3 separate regions of the Homo sapiens genome follow, and all the other regions are linked to region 1. Evidence: promoter capture Hi-C in 16 types of primary human blood cells and fetal thymus (Javierre and others, 2016). All regions are on one chromosome and are shown on one strand. The core of a region is centred on a gene start or on the middle of the fragment in contact, and the rest is flanking DNA. Distances in the headings are between cores, read along the strand shown.

Region 1 (4,403 bases), core at 1,234-3,733:
CGGTGAGTGTTACAGCTCTTAAGGTGGCGCGTCTGGAGTTTGTTCTTTCTGATGTTCAGATGTGTTCGGAGTTTCTTCCTTCTGGTGGGTTCGTGGTCTCGCTGGCTCAGGAGTGAAGCTGCAGACTTTCGCGGTGAGTGTTACAGCTCATAAAAGCAGTGTGAACCTAAAGAGTGAGCAGCAGCAAGATTTATTGCAAAGAGTGAAAGAACAAAGCTTCCACAATGTGGAAGGGGGCCTGAGCGGGTTGCCACTGCTGGCTCGGGCAGCCTGCTTTTATTCTCTTATCTGGCCCTACCTATGTCCTGCTGATTGGTAGAGCCAAGTGGTCTGTTTTGACAGGGCGCTGATTGGTGCGTTCACAATCCTTGAGCTAGACACAAAGGTTCTCCACGTCCCCACCAGACTCAGAAGCCCAGCTGGCTTCACCCAGTGGATCCCGCACCGGGGCTGCAGGTGGAGCTGCCTGCCAGTCCCGCGCCGTGCGCTCGCACTCCTCAGCCCTTGGGTGGTCGATGGGACTGGGCGCCCTGGAGCAGGGGGCGGCGCTCATCGGGGAGGCTCGGGCTGCACAGGAACCTACGGAGGCCGGGGGCTCAGGCATGGCGGGCTGCAGGTCCTGGGCCCTGCCCCGCGGGAAGGCAGCTAAGGCCCGGCGAGAAATCGAGCGCAGCGCCGGTGGGCTGGCACTGCTGGGGGACCGAGTACACCTTCCCGAGCAGCCGCTGGCCCGGGTGCTAAGCCCCTCATTGCCCGGGGCTGGCAGGGCCGGCCGGCTGCTCCGAGTGCGGGGCCTGCCAAGCCTACGCCCACCTGGAACTCTAGCTGGCCCGCAAGTGCCGCGCGCAGCCCCGGTTCGTACTCGCGCCTCTCCCTCCATACCTCCCTGCAAGCTGAGGGAGCCGGCTCTGGCCTTGGCCAGCCTAGAAAGGGGCTCCTACACCTATAAGTGAGAATATGCGGTGTTTGGTTTTTTGTTCTTGCGATAGTTTACTGAGAATGATGATTTCCAATTTCATCCATGTCCCTACACAATGAGAACATATGGACACAGGAAGGGGAACATCACACTCTGGGGACTGTTGTGGGGTGGGGGGAGGGGGGAGGGATAGCATTGGGAGATATACCTAATGCTAGATGACGAGTTAGTGGGTGCAGCGCACCAGCATGGCACATGTATACATATGTAACTAACCTGCACATTGTGCGCATGTACCCTAAAACTTAAAGTATAATAATAATAATAAAAAAATCCAAAAAAAAAGAAAAGAAGAGAAAAGAAAGGGGCTCCCACAGTGCAGCGGTGGGCTGAAGGGCTCCTCAAGTGCCGCCAAAGTGGGAGCCCAGGCAGAGGAGGCGCCGAGAGCGAGTGAGGGCTGTGAGGACTGCCAGCATGCTGTCACCTCTCAGTGGGAGCAGGTGTGACAAGAGTTGGGCAAATCAGACCTTTAATCCACCCTGATAGGCTGGAGTGTGGGCTTATGGCATTTCTCCTTTGACCCAATTAACCTCCACTCCCAATGTATCTCTGTGCAGAAGGCTCAGCTAGGTGTATCAGCCATTGTAAATCCTCAACATAAATTATAATTTAACCTAGAATACAGAGACTAGGTAGCAGGAGGAGAGGAAATGTAGAGATACTAATCTCTTCTCCCTTATCAGAAAGAAACCTAGCATAAGAAATTTCACGCTTAATGGGCCAAAGAGTAAATCAGAAAACTCCATGGGTGATGGTATGCTCATGGTGGTGGTGGTGGTGATGGGGAATTATTTGCCCTCCTGTGACCTCCCTTGGATTAATTTCTCCCCAGGACAATGGGAAAAATCATTTAATCCTTGGAGTTTTTTTTTTTTTTTTTTTTTTTTTTTTTTTTTTTTTTGCTTGAGAGTGACTCTGATCCTGTTTCTGATGGTCATGTTCCTCAGCATCATACTGAGTAAGTCACTGGCCTTGTAGCATCTGGAGTGATTGGAGTGATCCAAGATCCCTAGTTCCCATGTCACAAATGAGGATCCCACATATCTGGGACAGAGATGGAACATTATTTCTGGGTGTGTCTATCTAATCTATTCATCCTATCTATCTAATTTCTCATCTATATATATATTTGCCTACCCATCCATCCATCAATCCATCTTAGCTGTACGTTTATCCATTCCATCTATTTATCCTATTATCTATGTATCTATCTATCATCTATTAATAGCTATCTATCCATCTGTCTAATATATCCATTATCTATATCTACTTTATCTATCTACCTAATGTATCCATCCTATCTACTCTATCTATCTGTGCATCTACCCATCCATCTGGACCCTGAGCTGATTCCTCTGCACCCAGCTGGCCTGACGCCAGGTGTTGATTGGCTGCCCAGGCTCAGGAGACACATCCAGGCTGCAGGGATTGGTTGGCCCAGCCCAACCCAGCCAGCCCTCCCACAGCCTTTGCTATATCAAGGGCCAGGGTCAAAGGCCTCCCAGCAGACAGAGAGAGGAGGTTGTCTGGGACAGACTGCTCCTGACAGAAGGTGCCAGGCTGGGGGTGGCAGGCCTGGGGGGGGTCCTGGCCTGGGATGGAGAGGGGCACTGCCCAAGGCCCACGCAGCTCCTGGGTGCTGGCCTGGAGGATGGGTGGTTTCCGAGTAACTGAAACCAAGCCCCTGGCAACCTCACAGTGATTCAGGCTGGGCCTTTCTGGACTTTAATCAGTCTCTCTCTCTCTTTCCCATTCTAAGTGCTTACTAGGGAACTGGAGGCCACTTGGCTGCTGGTTTTGGTTGGGCCTTTCTGGACTTTACCTCTCAGCCCCTTTTTACCCATCCCTGAGCCCTCCCTGCTCTACCTCCGGCACTGCCCGTCCCTGCCTCTCCACTGTCCCTGGAGGTCCCTGGGCCGTTCTCTGGGCCTCAGGATCTCACCGTCCATCCCGTCTGCCCTGCAGGATGTCCCAGCTGAGCCTGTCCTGGCTGGGCCTCTGGCCAGTGGCAGCATCCCCTTGGCTGCTCCTCCTGCTGGTCGGGGCCTCCTGGCTCCTGGCCCATGTCCTGGCCTGGACCTACGCCTTCTATGACAACTGCCGCCGCCTTCGGTGTTTCCCACAACCCCCAAGACGGAACTGGTTTTGGGGACACCAGGGCATGGTGAGTGTGGCAGCAGGATGGGTCTAGGTCTCAGGATGGATGGACTTCCTGAGGGGTACGAGGCTTAGGGAGTGGGGGTGAAGGGGTGGGCTGGGATCTGGGGTGGCAGAGAAGCAGAGGAGGCATCTTACTCATTCCTCTGCTTATTCATTTCTGTGAGGTGCCTACGCAAGCCCTTCTCACTTCCTTGTCCTCCCACTCCAGGCCTGCATTGAATCCTTTTCCTGCCTGTCTTCCCACATTAATGCACCTCTGCGGGGCTCCTGGGCAGAGGGTTGGCTGCACAGAGAGGCGAGTCCCTGGCATTCCCACATTCTCCATTGCTGGACTCGAGGCTTCTTATGCCCACTGTCCAGGGTCCTCTCCTTGCCTGGACTATTTCCTGTTATGAGGGTACAGCTGGGCCAGAGGAGAGGCATGGGCCGTCTCCCACTTCCACTACACCCGAAGGCACCTTTCTCTTATATTCTTCTTCTTATCTCCCTCTTATCAATGAGACCTGTTGCCAAACCCAGATAAAAGTTGGCCACTCACTTCACCTTTCAGAAGCTTTCCTTGGCCTTTCTCCTCCCCGTGACCTTGCCCTCTGACTTAGACCGCTCTCCTCTTTGGGGAATGTGGTCTTAGTCTGCTCATTTGCAAATGGCAGGATTGATGGATGTGTCCACAGATAAAGTGGAAGGGTGCACAGGACACACTAGCACAGAGCCTGCTGCAGAAGCTGCTCCCAGGTGGGAGCCATTGTCCTGATGGACAGTTAGAGTCACCTCTGCTCCACTAGTGGCTGCTGAAAAGGGAAGGTCTCCCATGTGCAGAACCTTCTCCATGGGAGGAACTGGAGCCTCTGTGGATCAGCCAGGACATGAAGGCATGTGGGGACCAGCCTTAGGGACATGTCCTGAGGCGATACTGCTCCCCACAAATCTCCCCTGTGAGGACCTCCCCATATAGCTGCCTCTGGGCTGAAATGACTCCCAGAAAAAGAAAATCCTTCCTCTCAAGATAACTGGGCCTCTGTGAGTGGACAGTGCGTCTTCTCCCTCTGCCCTGGGATGCACCCTTGGGACTTGGAGATGGACCCAAGAGAGATAGAGCAGGAGGAATGTGGATAGATAGATAGATAGAGCAGGAGGAATGTAGATAGATAGATAGATAGATAGATAGATAGATAGATAGATAGCTAATAGGATAGATAGATAGATGCACAGATAGGATGGATAGATGGATGGATGGATGGATGGACAGGCACGTAGGTAGATA
Region 2 (4,570 bases), core at 1,113-3,612, 260 kb after region 1:
CTATCTTATATATCTGTCTATCTATCCATTCATCTATCCTATCTGTGCATCCATTCATCCATCTAGCCTATTATCTATCTACCTACCTATCTATCTATTCATTTATCTATCTAATCTATTCATCCTATCTAACTTTTCTATCTATATATCTATCTGCCCATCCATCCATCCATCCATCCATCTTATCTGTACATTCATCCACTCATCCATTTATCCTATTATCTATCAATCATCTAGCTATCTATCCATCCATCTAATCTATCCATCCTACATATCCACTCTACCTATCTATCCACCTAATGTATCCATCTTATCTACTACTTTATGTATGTATTATCCATCCATCCATCCATCCATCCATCCATCCATCCATCTTATCCATGCATCCATCTGTCCATCCATCCATCTATCCTGTTATCTATCTATCTATCTGTCTATCTACCCACCTACTTATCCAGCCAGCCAGCCATCTATTCACCCTATCTGTGCATCCATCCATCCATCTATCCTATTACCTATCTATCTGTCTACATTCCTCCTGCTCTATCTCTCTTGGGGCCACCCCCAAGTCCCAAGAGCGCATCCCAAGGCAGAAGGAAAAGACACACTGTCCACTCACAGAGGCCCACTTAGCTTGAGAGGAAAAATTTCCTTGTTCTGGGAGTCATTTCAGCCCAGAGGTGGGCATATGAGGAGGTCCTCACAGGGGAGGTTTGTGGGGAGCAGTGTGGACTCAGGACATGTCCCTAAGGCTGGTCCCCACATCCCTTCATGCCCTGGCTGGTTCCTCCACCAGCCACACAGGTTCCAGTTCCTCCCATGGAGAAGGTTCTGCACACAGGGGACCTTCCCTTCTCAGCAGTCACTAGGGGAGCAGAGGTGACTCTAACTGTCCATCATGACAGTGGCTCCCACCTGGGAGAAGCTTCTGCACCAGGCTCTGTGCTAGTGCATCCTGTGCACCCTCCCACTTCACCTGTGGACACACCCATCAATCCTGCCATTTGCAATGAGCAGATTGAGACCACGTTCCGCAAAGGGGAGAGCAGGTCTAAGTCAGAGGGCAAGGTCTGGGGGAGGAGAAAGGTCAGGGAAGGCTTCTGAAAGGGGAAGTGAGTGGCCAACTTTTATGTGGGTTTGGCAACAGGACCCCATTGGGACATCTTACTGGGGAGGAACAAGATAAGAGGAAGGTGCCTCCGGATGTGGTGGAGGTGAGAGACAGCCCACACCTCTCCTCTGGCCCACCTATACCCTCATAAGAGGAAATAGGCCAGGTAGGGAGAGGACCCTGAACAGTGGGTACAGGAGGCCTCGAGTCCAGCAATGGAGAATGTGGGAACGCCAGGGGTTCACCTTTCTGTGCACCCAACCCCCTGCCCAAGAGCCCCGCAGAGGTGCATTAATGTGGAAAGACAGGCAGGAAAAGGATTCAACACAGGCCAAGAGTGGGAGAACAGGGAGGTGAGAAGGGCTTGGGTTGGCACCTCACAGAAATGAGTAAGCAGAGGAATGAGTAAGACGCCTCCCCTGCTTCTCTGCCACCCCAGACCCCAGCCCACCCCCTCTCACCTGAGCCTCATTCTTACCCCTCAGGAAGTCCATCCACCCTGAGACCCCAGACCCGTCCTGCTGCCACACTCACCAGGCCCAGGTGACCCAAGAACCAATTCCGTTTCGGGGGTTGCGGGAAACACCGGAGGCGGCAGCAGTTGTCATAGAAGGTATAGGTCCAGGCCAGGATGCGGGCCAGGAGCCAGGAGGCCCCAACCAGCAGCAGGAGCAGCCACGGGGATGCTGCCATTGGCCAAAGGCCCAGCGAGGACAGGCTCAGCTGTGGCATCCTGCAGGGCAGATGGGGTGGTGAGTGAGGTCCTGAGGCCCAGGGAAGGGCCCAGGGAGCTCCAGGGACAGTGGAGAGAGGCAGAGACGGGCAGTGCTGGAGATAGAACAGTAAGAGTAAACAGGGATGGATAAACAGGGGCTGAGGGGTAAAGTCCAGAAAGGCCCAGCCAAAACCAGCAACCAAGTGGCCTCCAGTTACCCGGTAAGCACTTAGATTGAGAAAGACAGAGAAACTGATTAAAGTCCAGAAAGGCCCAGCCTGAATCATTAGGACGTTGCCAGGGGCTTGGTTTCAGTTAGAAAACCACTCATCCTCCAAGCCAGCAACCAGGAGCTGCCTGGGCCTTGGGCAGCAATGGAGAATGTGGGAAGGCTGGGGCTCCCCTATGTGTGCGCCCAATCCCTTGCCCAGTGCCCATCTCCATCACAGGCTAGGATGCCCCAGGCCCACCACCCCCACCCTGGCACCTTCTGTCAGGAGCACCTTGTCCCACACAACCTCCTCTCCCCTTCTTCTGGGAGGTTTTTTCCCCTGGCCCCTGATGTAGGGAAGGCTGTGGGAGGCTAGGCTGGGCTGGGCTGGGCCAGCCAATCCCCACAGCCTGGGTGCCGCTCCCATGTCTGGGCAGCTGGCCAAAACCTGGGTGTGGGAGACCAGCTGGATGCAGAGGAACCAGCTCAGGGTGACACAGCACAGGCACTGGATCCTCAGGTCTCAGCACCTCCCACATAAGGTGGAGAGTAAGCCGAGAGGGGTCAGATAGAGTTTCCACTGTGTGACACCTGCTCTTAAAGAGCACCTACTGAGTGTGTGGCAGATAAAAGCATGAACTTGAGAGTTCAGGTGTCAAGCGAGCCAGGCCAGGCCAAGCCTTGTTCCAGATCATCTCCTGTGCTCCTCTCTAACCCTGGGCCGGTAGGACACCGTGTACCACTTCTGGATGCTGAATCAGGCAACCTGGAAGAGACAAGCCTCTATCCCCCTGCTGCTGGATGGAGTTCAAGTCTTGCCTCCAGGCAGTCCAGGGCCCTGTTGGAGACCTGACTGCTAGGAACGGGAACAAAGAATCCAGCCCCACTGAGGATTACCTGGGTCAGATTCTGGAGATTAAGAGCTCAGCTGGAAAAGCAAATCTGGAGGCCGGACTCAGTATAGGAGGACAGAGCGGGGACGTGGAGGGTTAGGATGAGAGGGAACGGATGGGGTCCAGGCAGGGGAAGGGCAGAGCCAGGGAACCATGAATGGAGTCCTCATTCTGCCTCATCCTTGCTCTGACTTTGGTCAGTACTGCCCCTCCTGGGTGCAGTCTTCCCATCTGGGAAATGGGATGTTCGATGAGGGCCTTAGCGGGGGACAATGAGGGCTCCTAAGAGGAGGGAGCCCCAAAAAGGAGTGAAGGGAAAGGGTGGCAACTAGCACTTGAGCTGCTGTGTGCCAGTCTCTACTCTGCACAAAGGCTGCATGGAAAGTACTTCTACTGTGTGCCAATACTCTAAATGAAGGGCAGCTACTGTGTGCCAGGTGCTAAATCCTGTCTACTCTGTGCCAAGTGCTTTCCATAAAGTGTGCCTACTGTGTGCCAGGTGCTCTACATTAACCCTGTATACTCAGTTCCTGATATTCCTCATAGAGTGCCTACTGTGTGCCACCTGCTCTACATAGTGAGTGCCTATTGAGTGCCACCCCCTGTATATGAAGAGTGCCCACTGAGCACCAGTTGCTGTCTACATAACACATGCCTACTGAGTGCCAAGTGCTCTACATAAACAGTGCCTACTGATACCACCTGCTCTATATGGTGACTTCCTACTGAGTGTTTCCTGATCTACATAAAGAGGGTCTATTGAGTGCTGCCTGCTCGAGTGTTGCCTGTGCTCCATAAAGTGTACCTACTGTGGGCTGCCTTCTGTACATAAAGGGTGCCTACTGAGTGCTGCTTGCTCTACATGAAGAGTTCCTACTCTTGCCTGCGCTACATAAAAAGTGCCTACTCAGTACCACCTGCAATACATAAAGAGTGCCTACTGGCCAGGCACAGTAGCTCATGCCTGTAATCCAAGCACTTTGGGAGGCCAAGGCAGGCAGATCATCTGAGGTCGGGAGTTCAAGACCAGCCTGGCCAACATGGTGAAACCCCATCTCTACTAAAAATACAAAAATTAGCCGGGCGTGGTGGCGGGCACCTATGATCCCAGCTACTCGGGAGGCTGAGGCAGGAGAATCTCATGAACCCGGGAGGCAGAGTTTGCAGTGAGCTGAGTTCATACCACTGCACTCCAGCCTGGGCAACAGAGTGAGACTCTGTCTCACAAAAAAATAAAAAAGAGAGAGAGCCCATTGAATGCCACTTGCTCTAGATAAAGAGTGCCTACAGATGCCACCTGCTCTATATAAAGAGTGTTTACTGAGTATCATCTGCTCCTGATAAAGAGTGCCTACTCACTGCTGCCTGCTCTACATAAAGAGTGCCTACTGCTGCCACCTGCTCTTCATAGTGTGCCCACTCTGTGACTCATGGTCTACATATGGTCTACATAGAGTTTCTACTGTGTGACACCTGCTCTTAAAGAGTGCCTACTGGGCCAGGCACAGTGGCTTACACCTGCAATCCCAGCACTTTGGGAGGCCGAGGCGGGCAGATCACGAGGTCAGCAGTTCGAGACCAGCCTGACCAACATGGTGAAACCCTGCTTCTACTAAAATTACAAAAAATTAGCTGGGCAT
Region 3 (4,443 bases), core at 1,414-3,913, 280 kb after region 1:
TTTCTATGCAATCACCTCTAAAATTTATCTGACTTGTCCCTCCCTTCTTCGAGCACCTTCCATGGCTCCTTAGTGCCCTCTGTATCAAGTCCGGTCCTTCAATCTGACATTTGACCTGAAGCTCCATTTTACCTCTTGAATTCAGATCCCAGAGAGGCCCACCTCGCTCAGCAGGAGCACATCAATAAAGTCCAAAGTCTTGGACTTGGCCTTGGCTTGGAGGAAGTCATCAACACCCTGGCTAGTGAGGGTGCGGCGCCGCTCCTGGATGACGGCATCTGTGAAGTCGTGCACCAGTCTGCAGGCCCTGTGGAAGCGCCGTCCACAGGGAGTGAGGAAGTACAGGAAGTCCTTGTACCGGAAGAACTGGTTATTCCGTTTCACTACAAGGGCACTGAGCTCCATGATCGCAGTAATATATTCACTGGGCTTCCTGCAGGGCCAGTCCAGAGAGAGGAAGCAGCTCCTTACCCACATGAAAGCCTGGGAGCACCTTCCAGCCAGAATCCCAGGACCACATTCCATGCAGAAAGGGGTGTCCTGCAAGCGCACTTCACTCTCTGCCTCCCACTCTCTGTGAGCTGCCTCCTGCCCCAGGTCCCCAGGGCACAGCTTGGCCATCATGGGCATCTCCTCTCTCTGTCTTATAAAACATCTGCTCCTGCCTATTATTACTCAGTTTCTCCCAAATCTGCCCCATTTTCTCCACCAAACTCAGACCTCCTCTCCCTGGCATCCTTGCATGCTGTGTCTACATGACAGTCAATCTTCCATAGAGTCCCATAGAGTCCAGTGTCCAAGCTCAGTACTGACCATGTCTCTCATCTGCTCAAACACCTCCATGGCTCCTTAGGAACCTTGGATAAAATGCATCTCCCTTTGTCTGACTTTTCAAGATCCTTAAGATCTAGTTAACTGCCAACCCCTCCACCTTCATTTCCAAGTGTCTCCCAACTGCCTGTTGCACATGCTCTGTTCATCTTAGCCTCCTTGCCTTGACCCAAACAGTTCCACTTGTTTGGAGGAAACTTCTCTTTCTCTCGCTCTCTCTCTCTCTCCTTCTCTCCTTCTTTGTCCTTCAATGCCTAGTTCTCATCATCTCTCCAGGAAGGCTCTTCTTGTCTCCCTGGGCTTTGCTCTCCCCACACCCACACCCCCACTCCATCCCATGTTCCCAGGCCCTGGGCAAGAACTCACTCCTGACAATTGCTGTCAAAGCTGAAGATGCATTTCTGCAGACTGTCCAGGGTCATAAGGCTGATGTGCTCAAACACATCCAGACAGGTGCTGCCCTCCATGGCCAGGCGTTGCCACTTGGCCTGGCCAGAGAAGGGAGCAGGGCTGGGGCCAGGCCTTGGCTCCTCTGAGTCCCCCTGCAACCCCAACCACCAGGATGGACTCCCCCAGAGGCATGCTCCTGGTTTTCTGTCCCAGACCCCCATCCTCAGGGAGGACTACGCTTGGGTGAGAGTGGAAGCTGTTACTATTAGGAGATGAAGATCCCATGGCTGGGTTCAAGCCCCAGCTGTGATTCCTAAGCTGTGTGTACCCTTGGTCAACTCACAGCCCTCCTCTAGGTCTCACCTGTCAAATCCTCAATAGCAATCAAGATGACCTGCTTTGATGCCAGGGAGCCAGGCTAGAACCCCTTTTCCCCCACTCTTAGACTCACTGACAAGCTGGGTGAACTTGGGAAATCTCTCTAACCTCTCTGGCCCTCAGTTTCACCATTTGTCATGGCATGGGGGAGAGGGTGGAAAATATCCTCTACTTCACAAGGCGGTGTAAATTAAATGAGACCACATACACCATGGAATAGGCATATTACATCATTTCTGTCATATGATGAGTTCTCAATAAATATTATCTTGATTCATCTTCATTGTTATAAATTGATTACAAAAAGTCCCTGTGATCCCCCTGAACATTTTTTTCTGAGCATGCCAAGAATGCAAAACTCTGAAGTTTTGTTGTTGTTGTTGTTTGTTTGTTTTGTTTGTTTGCTAGTTTTTGAGATGGAGTCTCGTTCTGTTGCCCAGGCTGGAGTGCAGTGGCACAGTCTTGGCTCACTGCAACCTCTGCCTGCTGGGTTCAAGCAATTCTCCTGTCTCAGCCTCCTGAGTAGCTGGGGTTACAGGCACGCACCACCACGCCCTGCTAATTTTTGTATTTTTAGTAGAGACAGGGTTTTGCCATGTTGGCCAGGCTGGTCTCGAACTCCTGACCTCAAGTGATACCAATGTGCTGGGATTACAAGCATGAGCCACCACACCCGGTCAACCCTGAGGTTCTTAATCTGGGCTATTTCTCAGCATTGTGTTTGCAGAGAACAGCCTTGGGGTATAAGGTAATGGCTCCTCTGGGACACACGTTAGGCTTATTCTGCTTGCTCTAAAAGCTGATTCTCTAAGCCTAATGCTCCTCCCCATCATGCAAATATACTACATGGCAGGCATCTATAGAAGCCCACCTTATCACCCCAGGGAATTTGGGTGGCTTAGAGAAAGGATCCAAACCAACAAGATGCACATGCCACTTGCTGAGACATGAGTAATAAACTTTTGTCTTTGACCCAGAAGTCTCGTGTCTTCTGGCAGAATCCATGCAAAAGTAACAAGCTAATTTATTAGCTCACAGGAGAAAAAAAAATCCTAGTCGTTTCACAAAACGCTTGGCTCCATTTCTTCTCTTCTCCCTGCATCCACATCTTTTGCAATGTGATTTTTTAGCAACTTCCATTAAGAGATGGAGCCTATTTTGCCCCACATTGATTCATGGTGGACGTTTTACTTTTTTTGGCCAATAGAATGTGGTGAAAATGATAAGGCCATAACTAGTGAGAAGTTGACTGGGTGCAGCAGCCCATGCCTGTAATTCCAGCATTTTGTGAGGCCGAGGAGGGCAGATCACTTGACGTCAGGAGTTCAAGACCAGCCTGCCCAACATGGTGAAACCCTGTCTCTACTGAAGATACAAAAAATTAGTTGGGCATGGTGGTGGGCGCCTGTAATTCCATCTACCCACGAGGCTAAGACAGGAGAATTGCTTGAGGCGGGGGTTGCAGAGAGCCAAGATCGCACCACTGCACTCCAGCCTGGGAGACAAAGCGAGACTTCATCTCAAAAATAAAATAAATAATAATAACTAGTGAGAAGCATTGTATCCTCCTCTCACTGCCTTGGAATCCTGTCTCTGCCATGTGAGCAATCCTGGGGTGTCATCTAGAGGCAGAGAATCACATGGAGAAAAGTCCAGGTGTCCCAGCTGAGGCCATCCTAAATCAGCCAGAAGCCAGCAAAGCTCCAAATATGTGAGAGAACTGAGCTGGCACAAGCAAAGCTGCCTACCTGACCCACAGCTGCTCTTATACCATGAGGGATCCTATCCACATGCAGAAGGGCTGGCCAACAGTCCCACAGATTTGTTAGCAAATATAAACCCTTATTGCTCTAAACCAATTAGTTTTGAAGTGATCTGTACTCAGCAATGACTACTATGCACGTGTCATCATTCCTTTCTTGAGTTTACAGGGCTTCTGTGAGAAAAATGTGGAAATTGACTCCTTCTGACCACCTACTAAGTGTCAGAGACATGAGTCCATTACATGCTCCTACCACCTTTTAGTGAGGATTATTAGCCTCATGGGGAAATCAAGGCACAGAGAGGAAGAGCAATGGCCCCAAACCCACCCAGGAGAGCCAACATTCCAGACCCAATTGTATGTGATCCCTCCACCCCAAGGCTGCAGCTGGGATGCTGAGTTCAAGGCACTCACATGCATGATGTTTGCACTCTTGCTGAAAATCTTTATATAGGGCTTCAGGATGTTGAAATGGAAGGCAGGCGTCAGCAAGCGACGGTGGTGTCTCCACTTGTCACCAACACTTAACAAGAGCCCATCCCCTAGTACGGCAGCCAAAGGCTGTGGGCAAGGGCAGAATCTTCCCCTGGCCACAAAAGTTGGTCCCCGTCCCGTCCACCTACAGTTACTTACCCAGCCAGGGCTTCAGGGTCTTGTAGAAGACTATGTCCTTGTCTGTAATGGCATCTGACATGAATGAGGACCATCAGGGTCCATGGAGAGGAATAGAGGAGGGACTTTGGGTATGGAGGGTGGCTCCCAGCCAGAGGTTTGGACGTCTTTTCTCCAAGCCCAGCATAGCAGGAAGGAGGCCATGGGCAGAAGAAGAAAGGAGGGTGGGGGGCATAAAGGGGACCGGACTAGGCTGCAACAACACTATAGAGCAATGATACACCCTGACATGGTACAGCACACCCAGCATGTCTTGACATGGCTCCTACATGGTCCAACATGTTCTGCAACACCCAAGCATAAGTCAACACTCTACAAAACACATTTACAGAATAAGAGTTAAAGACAGAATTCTGATGATATTAGGTGAGACCTGGATCCAGTTGTGCCTGAAGGCCAACCTCCCTGGA

What was found. The method cuts DNA at HindIII sites, captures the fragments that hold promoters and counts their contacts. A CHiCAGO score of 5 or more calls a contact.
Region 2: the fragment with the promoter of CYP4F3 here is called in contact with the fragment with the promoter of CYP4F2 in region 1 in 4 of 17 cell types (total CD4 T cells, total CD8 T cells, naive CD8 T cells and 1 more); the score reaches 6.8 in total CD4 T cells.
Region 3: a contact is called between a fragment that was not itself captured here and the fragment with the promoter of CYP4F2 in region 1, in 1 of 17 cell types (M0 macrophages). The highest score is 5.8, in M0 macrophages.

Annotation. Positions count from the first base shown.
Region 1 is chr19:15,896,154-15,900,556 of GRCh38, reverse strand. CYP4F2 (cytochrome P450 family 4 subfamily F member 2) reads left to right here and starts at 2,483. Exons shown (of 13, transcript NM_001082.5): 1 at 2,483-2,531; 2 at 2,945-3,143. The coding sequence starts at 2,946. The HindIII fragment of the contact is 3,476 bases long and covers 219-3,694 here.
Region 2 is chr19:15,638,689-15,643,258 of GRCh38, reverse strand. CYP4F3 (cytochrome P450 family 4 subfamily F member 3) reads right to left here and starts at 2,362. Exons shown (of 13, transcript NM_000896.3): 1 at 2,314-2,362; 2 at 1,646-1,844. The coding sequence starts at 1,843. The HindIII fragment of the contact is 7,096 bases long and covers 928-4,570 here.
Region 3 is chr19:15,619,095-15,623,537 of GRCh38, reverse strand. It overlaps CYP4F8 (cytochrome P450 family 4 subfamily F member 8), which reads right to left. Exons shown (of 13, transcript NM_007253.4): 4 at 3,995-4,048; 5 at 3,776-3,903; 6 at 1,198-1,319; 7 at 163-433. Among named protein-coding and RNA genes, the nearest start is that of CYP4F8, 6.1 kb to the right of the region's middle. The HindIII fragment of the contact is 5,324 bases long and covers 2-4,443 here.